Linked DNA regions of Homo sapiens: all the other regions are linked to region 1. Evidence: promoter capture Hi-C in human tissues and cell types (Jung and others, 2019). All regions are on one chromosome and are shown on one strand. Each heading gives the region's core, a stretch centred on a gene start or on the middle of the fragment in contact. The rest is flanking DNA. Distances are from core to core; before and after follow the strand shown.

Evidence for each region. The method cuts DNA at HindIII sites, captures the fragments that hold promoters and counts their contacts. A contact is called where the count stands out against the background at its distance.
Region 2: a contact is called between a fragment that was not itself captured here and the fragment with the promoter of ZBTB43 in region 1, in 2 of the 25 tissues and cell types used here (aorta and lymphoblastoid cells).
Region 3: a fragment that was not itself captured here is called in contact with the fragment with the promoter of ZBTB43 in region 1 in 2 of the 25 tissues and cell types used here (mesendoderm cells and thymus).
Region 4: a fragment that was not itself captured here is called in contact with the fragment with the promoter of ZBTB43 in region 1 in 2 of the 25 tissues and cell types used here (bladder and mesenchymal stem cells).

What each region holds. Positions count from the first base shown.
Region 1 is chr9:126,803,666-126,806,381 of GRCh38, forward strand. ZBTB43 (zinc finger and BTB domain containing 43) reads left to right here and starts at 1,375. Exons shown (of 3, transcript NM_014007.4): 1 at 1,375-1,467. RefSeq lists a silencer at 990-1,039 and enhancers at 1,101-1,602, 1,670-1,729, 2,140-2,249, 2,400-2,549. The HindIII fragment of the contact is 16,594 bases long and covers 1-2,716 here.
Region 2 is chr9:126,550,317-126,553,032 of GRCh38, forward strand. No RefSeq gene overlaps it. Among named protein-coding and RNA genes, the nearest start is that of LMX1B-DT, 62 kb to the right of the region's middle. The HindIII fragment of the contact is 5,058 bases long and covers 1-2,716 here.
Region 3 is chr9:126,591,685-126,594,400 of GRCh38, forward strand. No RefSeq gene overlaps it. Among named protein-coding and RNA genes, the nearest start is that of LMX1B-DT, 21 kb to the right of the region's middle. The HindIII fragment of the contact is 5,469 bases long and covers 1-2,716 here.
Region 4 is chr9:126,664,793-126,667,508 of GRCh38, forward strand. All of the region lies in intron 2 of LMX1B (LIM homeobox transcription factor 1 beta), which reads left to right. Among named protein-coding and RNA genes, the nearest start is that of LMX1B, 52 kb to the left of the region's middle. RefSeq lists a silencer at 638-932 and an enhancer at 810-1,649. The HindIII fragment of the contact is 9,165 bases long and covers 1-2,716 here.

The sequences.
Region 1 (2,716 bases), core at 125-2,624:
GTGCCACTGCATTCCAGCCTGGGCAACAGAGCAAGAATTCGTCTCCAAAAAAAAACAAAACAAAACAAAACAAAACCACAAGGCGGGGGAGCTGGAGCATACATGTTTGAAGTAGAATCTTTGACAAGCTGTTCTGCATCCACTCCCATTTCTGTGCTTCCATATTTGTTTTCTTTCATTTTGTTTTCTAGAAAAAAAAATTTTTTTGGTAGAATTCTCTAGGAAAGCTACACTCCTGTGTCCTAGGGCCCAACAACAAGCAAGACAGGCATAACAGCTGGGAAACCAATCAGCTTAAACTGAGACAGACAATATCAAACAGGCATGTCAGGCCCCACGAGAACATCCACCCTAAATCCAGAAGGCATTATGACCACATCGCTTCAGCTGCCTGGATTTCAGGTATAAATTAGTTCTTCTACAAAGAGGGCACTTGGTCTGTAAACGGGTCCAAAGGTAAGAGTCCCACCGCTAAAGACCTATCTCTCTTCTACACTAACATGGGGGGGCAGTGGGGAAGAAAGGGGCGAGAAGAGGTATGGAGGTTTTGGGAGGGAGTGGGAGAATTGGAGGCTAGAGAGATCGTTTCTGTCCCACCATCTGTGTGACCCCAGTGCCCAGCACAATGCAGCCCACGGAAAGGCACTGGTCCTTTCATTGACCATTTACTGAGCATCTACTACATGCCAAAAAGCGAGATGGGTGCTGTGAAGGCAGAAACGGATTTGGAGATAATCTCCGCCAGGCATACTGAGGTCAAGGTTTTCGTTCGTTTGTTTAGAGAAGAGACGGAGAAGGTCAAGGTGTTTTTGTTTGTTTTGTTGTTGTTGTTGTTGTTGTTTAAGAGTCTTGCTCTGTGCTCAGGCTGGAGTGCAGCGGCGTGATCTCGGCTCACTGCAACCTCTGCCTCACGGGTTCAGGCAATTCTCCTGTCTCAGCTTCCCAAGTAGCTGGGATTACAGGCGCGCGCAACCACGCTCAGCTAATTTTTGTATGTTTTGTAGAGACAGGGTTTCACCATGTTGGCCAGGATGGTCTCGAACTCCTAGCCTCAAGCGATCATCCCCTCTCGGCCTCCCAAAGTGCAGGGATTACAGACGTGGGCTACCGCGCCTGGCCTATGCCAAGGTTTCAAGAAGGTTTAGAACTCAGTATCTGCTCCCCTATTTTCAACAGCGTAGTCAGTCCCTAAAATTGACCCGCTCCAGAGTGTACTGCGCAGGCGCCCGCTACCTCCGCGCTCTCTCCCGACGCCCAGCTCAGACGGTAAGTCCCGCATGCGCACTCCGCTTTCTCTCTGACGCACCCCCGGAAGCACTGTCAGTTTCGGGGGGCGGGACCGGGAAGCGTTTCCGGGGGCTGAAGGCACAGGCTGAATCTGTTGCGGCAGCTGAGGCTACAACAGGCCTGCGCCGGCGGCAGAGAGGATATCTTGGGCGGGGGATGTGAGCGCTGAGCCCTTGGCAGGTACTGCGTGGCCAGGACCACGGGCGGCAAGGGTAGGGGAGGAGAAGTCGGTGGGGGAGTTAAGGGCTCCTCAGCAGGCCCCGACGCTCGCGCCGCTGGCCCCGCCAGGCCCATTCCGTGGACCGGCATACCAAAGCCCCGCGCGGGAGGTTGGGGTCCCGGCGCTCCAGCTCCGAATCCCGCAGTCTTCTGCCCACACGGCGCGCAGACCGCGATACCGAGGCCTTTGGGGCAGCTTCTCGCCCAAGGTCACCCTCGCGGCGGCGGAGCTCCGCCGGCCACAGCGCTTAGAGATCCCGCCCCCGTCCGTCCGCTGGCCTTTCGGGGCGTAGGGTGGGCGCGGCTTGACGACCTCGGGTTCGAGCCACCAATGCCTGAGGCCTGACGAGCCGAGCTGGGAGAAAGACTGCGCCTGGACTTAGCTGATCTTCTGTTTAAGTAAAACATTCAGCATCCCCTGTTGCTGTCTCTGTCACCTGTTGTAACCTGCCCTTTTTGTCTTTCAGCTAGGTCGCTGTCAACCTGATATTTCTCTCCACTTTGTCTTTGTCGGGGTATCTGGATCCTGTTTTATATCTGTCTCCACCTTGCTTCTGTGTCTGTTCACCCTGTCTCTGCCACTCAGCCCTTACTCTAATTCAGGGCCTGTCAGTCTGGCTTTTTGGCCATCTGTCTGTTTCTCTCTTTCTGCCAACTTTGTTTTTGCCTCTTGTCTCTCTTTCCTGAGTTTGGGTGGGGCAGGGCTGCCCAGACCTCTGAGCCATGGAAGGTGACTCATGACCCCGTGAAGTTCCCTGCACTGGTGACACTCTCAGTGACTCGACCGCAGTTTGGCCTCAACTCTGACAGGTGTCGCCCAACATAAGTGTCAGAGTGCAGGAGAGCCTGTCAGGGAGACAGGAGGCCCATTTTAGGGCCAGAGCAGCTTGATGAGTCCTCTCCTTTTCTCGCCTGTGGTTTCTCAGGCCTGCACAGCTTCCCAAATGCCTTCGCTCTATCCACTCACCACAGGATGGTCTCCAGGGATCTCTGGAGCCTGCTCTTTGAGTTACAGCTGTTTAACAGGCCTGTCTACAGGCTAAGAAAGGATCAGACTGAGGTCTTTGGGGCTACTGGAACAGTAGCAGGGTTTCTGGGATAACTGCATGCTTAGTTCAGAGATTGTGTCAGCATTTTCAGTTAAATTATAAGAAACCTAATAATTGGGAATTTATTATTTGCTTTATAAAAGCACCACGGGAGAAATAAA
Region 2 (2,716 bases), core at 58-2,557, 250 kb before region 1:
TCTTTTTTTTTTTTTTTTTTTTTTTTTTGAGACAGTCTCGCTCTGTCACCCAGGCTGGAATGTGGTGGTGCAATCTTGGCTCACTGCAACCTGCAACCTCCGCCTCCTGGGTTCAAGCGATTCTCCTGCCTCAGCCTCCCAAGTAGCTGGGATTACAGGCACCCGCCATCACGCCTAATTTTTGTATTTTTAGTAGAAACAGGGTTTCGCCATGTTGGCCAGGCTGGTCTTGAACTACTGACCTCAGGTGATCCACCCTCCTCGACCTCCCAAAGTTCTGGGATTACAGGCATGAGCCACCGTGCCTAGCTTTAATTCCACTCTTAAAGTATCCATGTCTACTAGTTTGAGGGCCAGCCTGGGCCTGCCCAACCATTCCAGCCACCCTCTCACCAAGGCCCCCGGGCTCCATCCAGCAGTCCCACCACTAGCAGTCATCACTCCAACCATAACAACAGCCAGCACGTTCCAAGTACCCACCAGGTGCCAGGCACCTTTCCCCTTGCCTCGTTCAGGCCTCACTTAGCCTTCGGAGGCGGCATCAGCCTCTGCCCCATTCCTGGATGCAGAAACAGGAGCTCTGAGAGGGCTGAGTCAGTTGCCCAGCATCACAAAGTCAGGGACAGGTCCCCCCTCCCAGGTTTTCCTGGTTCAAAGCTGGCATTCCCGGCCTCTCTTGTCCCACAGGAGGCAAAAGCCCGTGCCTGGCACAGCCTGGGAATGGGAGGCAAGTCAGGGTCAGGGCTCAGGGACTCGGAGTTGGTTCATGCTGCTGCCAGAGGACAAAATTAACTCGATAAATAACAGATATGGCAGGGGGCGGGGTGCGCTCCTTTTAGAAAACTCGGCAGCTCCGGGCACCCATGCCTGTGTGTGGGCTTTATGGAGCTAAGTTTTCATTGCAGGCCCCACATCCTGGCCGCAGCCTTCCTGCAGAGGAGGACGCGTGTTCTTTTTAATTAAACCTGTCTGTTATCACAGCAGATTGCTACGAAGGGAGGCCCATTAGCGGAGCGGCAGCTGTTGGGAAACCGCTTGCCACACTGAGCACACGGGCCCTGGAACTCTCGACGGGGCCAGCATCCCTGACCCTTCCCCTGCCCCTGCCCCTGCCCCTGCCCCTGCTGCAACACCAGCGAGGAGCTCTGGGCAGGGCCTCCCACGCCCAGCCCCACTATGCACCAGGAGACACCTGCCACCCAGAGCTCCTACTAAGCAGGGGAGCCTCCCACCCCAGGAACACAGCTCTGGGGACAGAGAAACCTGGATGGGATCCTGGCGCAGCCACTTGTTGGCAATGTGGTCCCAGGACAGTACCTCAGCTCTTTGGTAATGATGAGGCACAGCTCCCATACACCGACGCACCCAGCTTCAGGTACACAATCCGACGACCTCCACAAAGCTTCACGAAGTAGGGACTGTTGTCCTCATTTTACAGATAGGGAAACTGAGGCTCAGGAACAACTGACCGGGTTACACCGCTTGAATATGGCTGAGCTAGGATTTCAATGGACCACAGGCTCAGCTTCCCTAGCTAGGAAACGCAGATAATGGTCTTCACCTGGGAATGTGGGTGGGGGTGGGGGAGTTATTAATAAATAAGGCAGTGAAGGGCGTGGAGTGAGCGTCCATAAATGGCTGCAATTTTTATATGAACGTTGTAATTTAAGCACATGACTGGCCCTTAGCCCCATTTTCCAGATGATGAAACTGAGGCTCTGGCCCTCATAGTCCCCGGTAATCCCCCCTCCTATATCACCCCACACCTGGTCATGCCAGCAGCCTCCCCACCACCTTTCCTAATCTTTTGCCTGTCTCTTCTCCACTGGGCACCAGAACAATTTCTCATTCTCTCATCAAAATAATGTGGATTTGGGCCCAGCGCAGTTGCCATGCCTGTAATCCTAGCACTTTTGGAGGCCAAGGTGGGAGGATTGCTTGAGGCCAGGAGTTCGAGACCAGCCTGGGCAACATGGCAAAACTCCATCTCTACAAAAAATTTAAAAATTAGCTGGGCATGGTGGTGTGTACTTGTAGTCCCAGCTACTCAGGAGGCTGACGTGGGAGGATTTCTTGAGCCTGGGAGGTCGAGGCTGCAGCAAGCAGTGATCTCCAGCCTGGATGACAGAGGGAGACACTGCCTCAAAAATAACAAGGCCGGGCATGGTGGCTCACACCTGTAATCCCAGCACTTTGGGAGGCCGAGGTGGGCGGATCACCTGAGGTCGGGAGTTCGAGACCAGCCTGACCAACATGGAGAAACCCCGTCTCTACTAAAACTACAAAATTAGCCAGGCGTGGTGGCACATGCCTGTAATCCCAGCTACTCAGGAGGCTGAGGCAGGAGAATTGCTTGAACCCGGGAGGCGGAGGTTGTGGTGAGTAGAGATCACACCATTGCACTCCAGCCTGGGCGACAAGAGCAAGATTCCGTCTCAAATAATAATAATAATAATGTGGATTTGGTTTTTAGTTAATTATAAAATAAAATCAGGGTAAACACATTAATGGACAGATGATTATAAAAAGAACATAGAGCCCACGGGCAGTGGCTTACGCCTGTAATCCCAGCACTTTGGGAAGCCAAGGTGGGCGGAGCACTTGAGATCAGGAGTTCAAGACCAGCCTGGCTAACATGGTGAAACCCTGTCTCTACTAAAAATACAAAAATTAGCCAGGTGTGGTGGCGGGCGCCTGTAATCCCAGCTACTTGGGA
Region 3 (2,716 bases), core at 85-2,584, 210 kb before region 1:
TGGTCCCAGCTACTCGGGAGGCTGAGATGGGAGGATGGCTTGAGCCTGGGAAGTCAAGGCTGTGGTGAGCCATGATTGGGCCACTGCACTCCACCCTGGGCAACACAGTGAGACCCTGTGTTGCAAAAAAAATTAAGTAAGAGGGCTGGGATTTGAACCCATGTTGTCCAACTCCAAAGACCATAAACTTATTTATGATGTGATCTTGCCTCCCCTGATTATTTGTACAGTAATCACATCATAATGAATGTAATCATGTCATAAATGAACTTGTTAACAAATAAAATAAAATCATAAGCCTCTGTCAGTGGAATTGTGGTGCGTGGCTGCTTAAGGTGCAGGTGGGGTCAGAGCATGCTTGAGACACCCATGCCCAGTGCCTCCAAGCAAGATGATGGCAGCCATCCAGATACTTCATAAGGCCTGGATTATCTTCCCATCAAGACAAGCTGCCAAGAGCAGCCCTGATACCAGCGAATGGCAAGCGCAGCTCAGAAAATAAGAGCAGAAGCTCCAAACACACAAGTTGTCATAATAATAGCTGATATTTATGGGTGGCTTATGTGTTAGGCACTGTGCTATTGATTCCTCATGACTGCCTGCAGGGGTGGGTACAGTAGCTGCCCTGAGTTACAGATGAGGGATCTAGAGCCCACAGAGTGAAGTCCCTTGCCAAGGTCACACGACCATCTCAGGTGCAGCAGGACTTAGGTGGAGGTCCGACTCCAGAGCCAGCCCTTAATCACATGCTCTAAAGACTGTATGATAGTTCCTCTCTGCAGCCAAGAGGAAATTTTAGTAGTACCTGCAAAGATCGGAACTGCAGAAAGCGGTTGTGCTGATAATACAACTCCTAGTATTAAAGGGTCCAAGGAAGACTGATCCCCCCAGGCTGATGTCTTCGTCGAATTTCCCTGGCGTTTGCTGGGGAAGGATTGTGTAATCGAGACTGAGGCACAGCATGCAGCCTGAAAGCCTGCTATTCTTCCCATTGTGATTTCAGCCTTAATCTTGAGTTTATAAGTATTTTATGTGGTGAAGAATGTCATCACTGGCAAAAAATAAATCCAACCTCTAAGTAGACGCTTAGCTTTAAAGGGATATTCGCTTAGGAAAATGGTCATGATGCATTGTTAGAGATTTTTCTCATTGCAAACAACAAAGCTATGTAGATGGTGTGATCCAAATTTTTTTCTTAAAGGATGTTTATGCAGAAAAAACAAAATAAGCCCAGGCATAGTGGCTCACACCTGTAATCCCAGCACTTTGGGAGGCCAAAGCGGGCTGATCACTTGAGGTCAGGAGTTCAAGACCAGCCTGGCTAACATGGTGAAGCCCCATCTCTACTGAAAATACAAAAAATTTGCTGGGCATGGTGATGTGTGCCTGTAATCCCAGCTACTCAGGAGGCTGAGGCAGAAGAATCCCTTGAACCTGGAAGATGGAGGTTGCAATGAGCTGAGATTGTGCCATTGCACTCCAGCCTGGGTGACAGAGCAAGACTCCATCTCAAATAAATAAATAAATAAATATTAAAAAATAAAAAATGAAAAACAAAAAGACTAACTCTGGGGGCTGGTATTATGGATTATTTTTATTTTCTCATTTGTGCTTTTCTATGCTTTCCAATTTTTCTAAAATGAAGTACATTATATTCATAACTTAAATGTTATTAAAATTTTTTACAAAGGTTTGCTAGTTTCAGAGGCACTAGACTTCCATTAACAACTTCAAGCTTTGTTGTTTTTTTTTTAACTTTATTTATTTACTTATTCATTCAACAAACATCCGCTGATTTCAGCTGTGCTGGGCTGTCACCCAGAGTGGATCAGATGCAGATTCCTTTGAGGAGCTGCCTTGCAGTAGGTGGGCAGACAGACAGTCCCATACCACAGTTGTCTGCTCAGACATGATGACCCCATTAGATGTGAGCTCCAGGAGGACAAGACCCTCTGTGGGTCATCTCTGTATCCTAGTACCTAGGATGGGGTCTGAAACAGTTAGGTGCTGCAGAAATATTTATGAACAAGTAAGTGAAATCAGGGAGGCACTTGTTCAAATCCCAGCTCATTGAGTCCCAGTTTCCTCTTCTACAAAAACCAGAGGTAATACCTATCCCATGGGCATGGGGTTGTTTGAAAGCTCAATTAACAATGCCTTGGCCAGGCGCGGTGGCTCACGCCTGTAATCCCAGCACTTTAGGAGGCCAAGGCAGACAGATCACTTGAGGTCAGCAGTGTGATACCAGCTTGGCCAACATGGTGGAATCCTGTCTCTACAAAAAATACAAAAATTAGCCAGGTGTGGTGGCACACTCCTGTAATCCCAGCTACTTGGGAGGCTGAGGCACAAGAATTGCTTGAGCTCAGGAGGCGGAGGTGGCAGTGAGCCGAGATTGTGCCACTGCACTGCAGCCTGGGCAACAGAGAGAGACTCTGTCTCCAAACAGAACAAAACAAAACAAAATAAAACAAAACAAAAGCAATGCCTACAAATAGTAATAGACCCTTGACAAAAAAGCAGAAATAACTTGTTTCAAATTGGGTAGATGATGATGACGTGCAAAGTCTGAGGTCAGACCTTCCTCTACAAGCATCGGGAACTTGACTAGAAAAAAAATTTGGTTTATAATTTGGGAGAAGAGTATGTAGCTTATACTCCCATTTCTCTAAGAAAAGTAGAGGCATTAACTTTTAAAATGGAAGGACAAAACAAA
Region 4 (2,716 bases), core at 136-2,635, 140 kb before region 1:
TGAACCTGGGAGGCGGAGGTTGCAGTGAGCCAAGATCACGCCATCGCAGTCCAGCCTGGGCAACAGAGAGACTCCGTCTGGAAAAAAATAAATAAATGCACACGTTGTGCAAGTATTTCCTGACCTTGACCAAAGTAATTCAGCTTCCTGAGCCTCAGTTTCTCTACCTACGAAGTTGGGATGAAGGTATCTCTCTCATTGGAGAGGCTGAAGCATTAAACACAGGGATGCCTGTACCGTCCTTAGCGCTGTGCTTGCGTTGGGCAAGTGTCCATTCAGGAATTGCTTGTCTTCTTCCTGCCAATGCTGCTGTTCTTGTTAGTTTTATTATTATTATCCCCAGGTGGAGGTGGGGTGTTCCTCCATGCCTTCGCGCCTCTCTGGCTTCCTCCAGCTCCCTGGAGCTAGCTGCTGGCTGAGCCGGTCCCCCTCCTCCACGGTCCATCGTAACCTGATTTGGGGGGAGGGGCGGTGCAGCCTGGCACGGCCATTGTTGGGCCTCCCCCTGGAGCCAGGGCTGGGGCGGCGGGGGCGGGGCTGCCAGCTGTGCAGTGACATTCCGCAGCCCTGCTAACCGCTGCTCCTGACTCTGGTGGCTAAATTGAGTCTCGGTTTCCTTAAAATGACTATTTATTGCTTTAATGCAGTATTGAGTATTTACTGAGTGTTGGAGAAAAGGCTCGCCCAGTTTGGAGCTTGGCGGCCACCGGCCAGCGGGGCTGCTCTGGGAGGGTGAGTCTGGAGGAGGCGGGAGGCTCCTCTTACCAGAGAAACAAAAGCGCCTCCGGTGTTCCTTCTGCTGGGCTGCAGGGGCGGGGTTGCCCTGTCTCTGATCTGGACCACTCCTTCCCCTGGGTGGTGTGTCTTTGGAAGGAGGGGTTCACAGGACAGCCTTCCACCCGCTTCACCAGCCGTGGAGAATCGCTGGCCTTTGAACAGAGTAGGCACCAGCTGCCCCCTACCAACCCCCCGGGTAGCCCGCTACCTCGGTGGGGCCAGCCCATGCCAGCCCGGGGCAGCTCAGCTGTGTCCCTCTGCATGGAGACCTCCTCACAGCCCCAACAAGGCCAGCGTGGGCCCTCCCCGAGGGCTACACCATTGTCTCCAGGGTGAATGCAAACGCTGACCAGAACCCAGCAGGCAGCATGTGCGGAGAGGCTGAGATGTGCTGGTGAACAAAGATCGGAGGAGGAGGCCTCTCATCACAGCTCCTACGCAGAGGTTCCCGAGCTAGGCGCTGTGCCGAGGCGGTCTGCCCTGCGCCTCAGTAACCCTCAGAACAACCTACCAGGCAGCTTCTATGGCCGGCCTATTTTACAGATGGGAAAACTGAGGTTTGAGAGATTTGCTGAGAGGCACAGACGGGTCTGAACGCAGCTCTGGTGCTCTGCTCACCACCTCCTGGGGGGCAGCCCACTGGAAGATGCTGGGAGCAGGCAGGCTCCCTGAAGGAAGTGCCCATCGAATCCAGCCTGGAAGGATGAAAAGCATTCAGCTGACAGCCCTGGAGGGGCAGGGGGCAGGCCCAGGAGAGGGGACAGGGAGAGCCAAGGCACGGAGTTGAGGCCACGGACCTCAGAGTCCAGAGCAGCTGAGCCAGGTGACAGAGGCTGATGGGATTAGGGAGAGCCTGCCCTGGTGTGGCTGGAGCTGCAGATCCATTTCTGGAAAGAGGAAAGGGAAGCAGGAAGGGAGAAAGAGGGTGGAAAAGTAAGTGAGGGCAAAGAAAGGAAATTGAGGGCAAAAGGAAGAAGGGAAGTGAGAAAAACAGGTTGTTAATAGCAATGCTAATAATAACCTCACTGGCGCCATTCTATGTGCTTTACGTACGTGCTTTACGTACGCATGTTCTATGTGCTGTACGCTGATAACACACTGGGTAGTCAGGGCTGCCCTGTCCTGTTGCGTGTAAGTGGAGAGACTCTGAAGACTTCTGAGCAGGCCGTGATGCAGTTTGATTTTCATTCTGAAAGAGACAGGAGACAGCAGAGGGGACAAGGAGGCCTGGGCAGGGCAGGTATACAGGGATGAGGGCCTGCAGAGGGGCGGCGTGGGAAGAATGGGAGAGGAAGAGGCCTGGGCGAAGGGTTCGAGGTTTCTTCTCTCTCAGCCCTGGGAGAACAGTCATTTCCAGAAGAGCTGGTCAGAGGGAACTGAGCTTAGGGCGAAATGACAAATCGGTCTCTTTTGTTCTCTGTATTTCTTATAGATTTTTTATTTTTTATATTACAAAATCGTTGTTGCTCATTGTAAAATAAATTCAGGCAAAGCAGAAGTCAAACAAAATGGGACAGTATTCATCCGTTCCCTCACCCCTTTCCCAGAGGCGGTCAGTTGACAGATGCGTAACGTTCCAGGCCTTTCCTACAACATAGGAGCATGTTCTGTGCACATCCACTTGGTTTTCCTTTTGATGGGATCCATATTTCCTCTAACTGCTCTGCTCTGTACTGGCTTGTCCCACTTAGCAACACGCTGAGAACACCTGCGCACATCAGTACACGCAGATTTGCTGTATCTTGCAGCCACGACGTAACAGTCCAGGGAATGGGTGAACTTTGATTTATGAACCCATTTCCCTACTGACAGCCCTTTGGGCAGCTGCCAGTGCTTTGCTGTCACACACACCATACATCAGTGAGCATCCTGGTACATATATCTTTGTGCGCATGTGCCGCGTGACGGGAGCTGGAGTATAAACACACTGGGCGGTGCT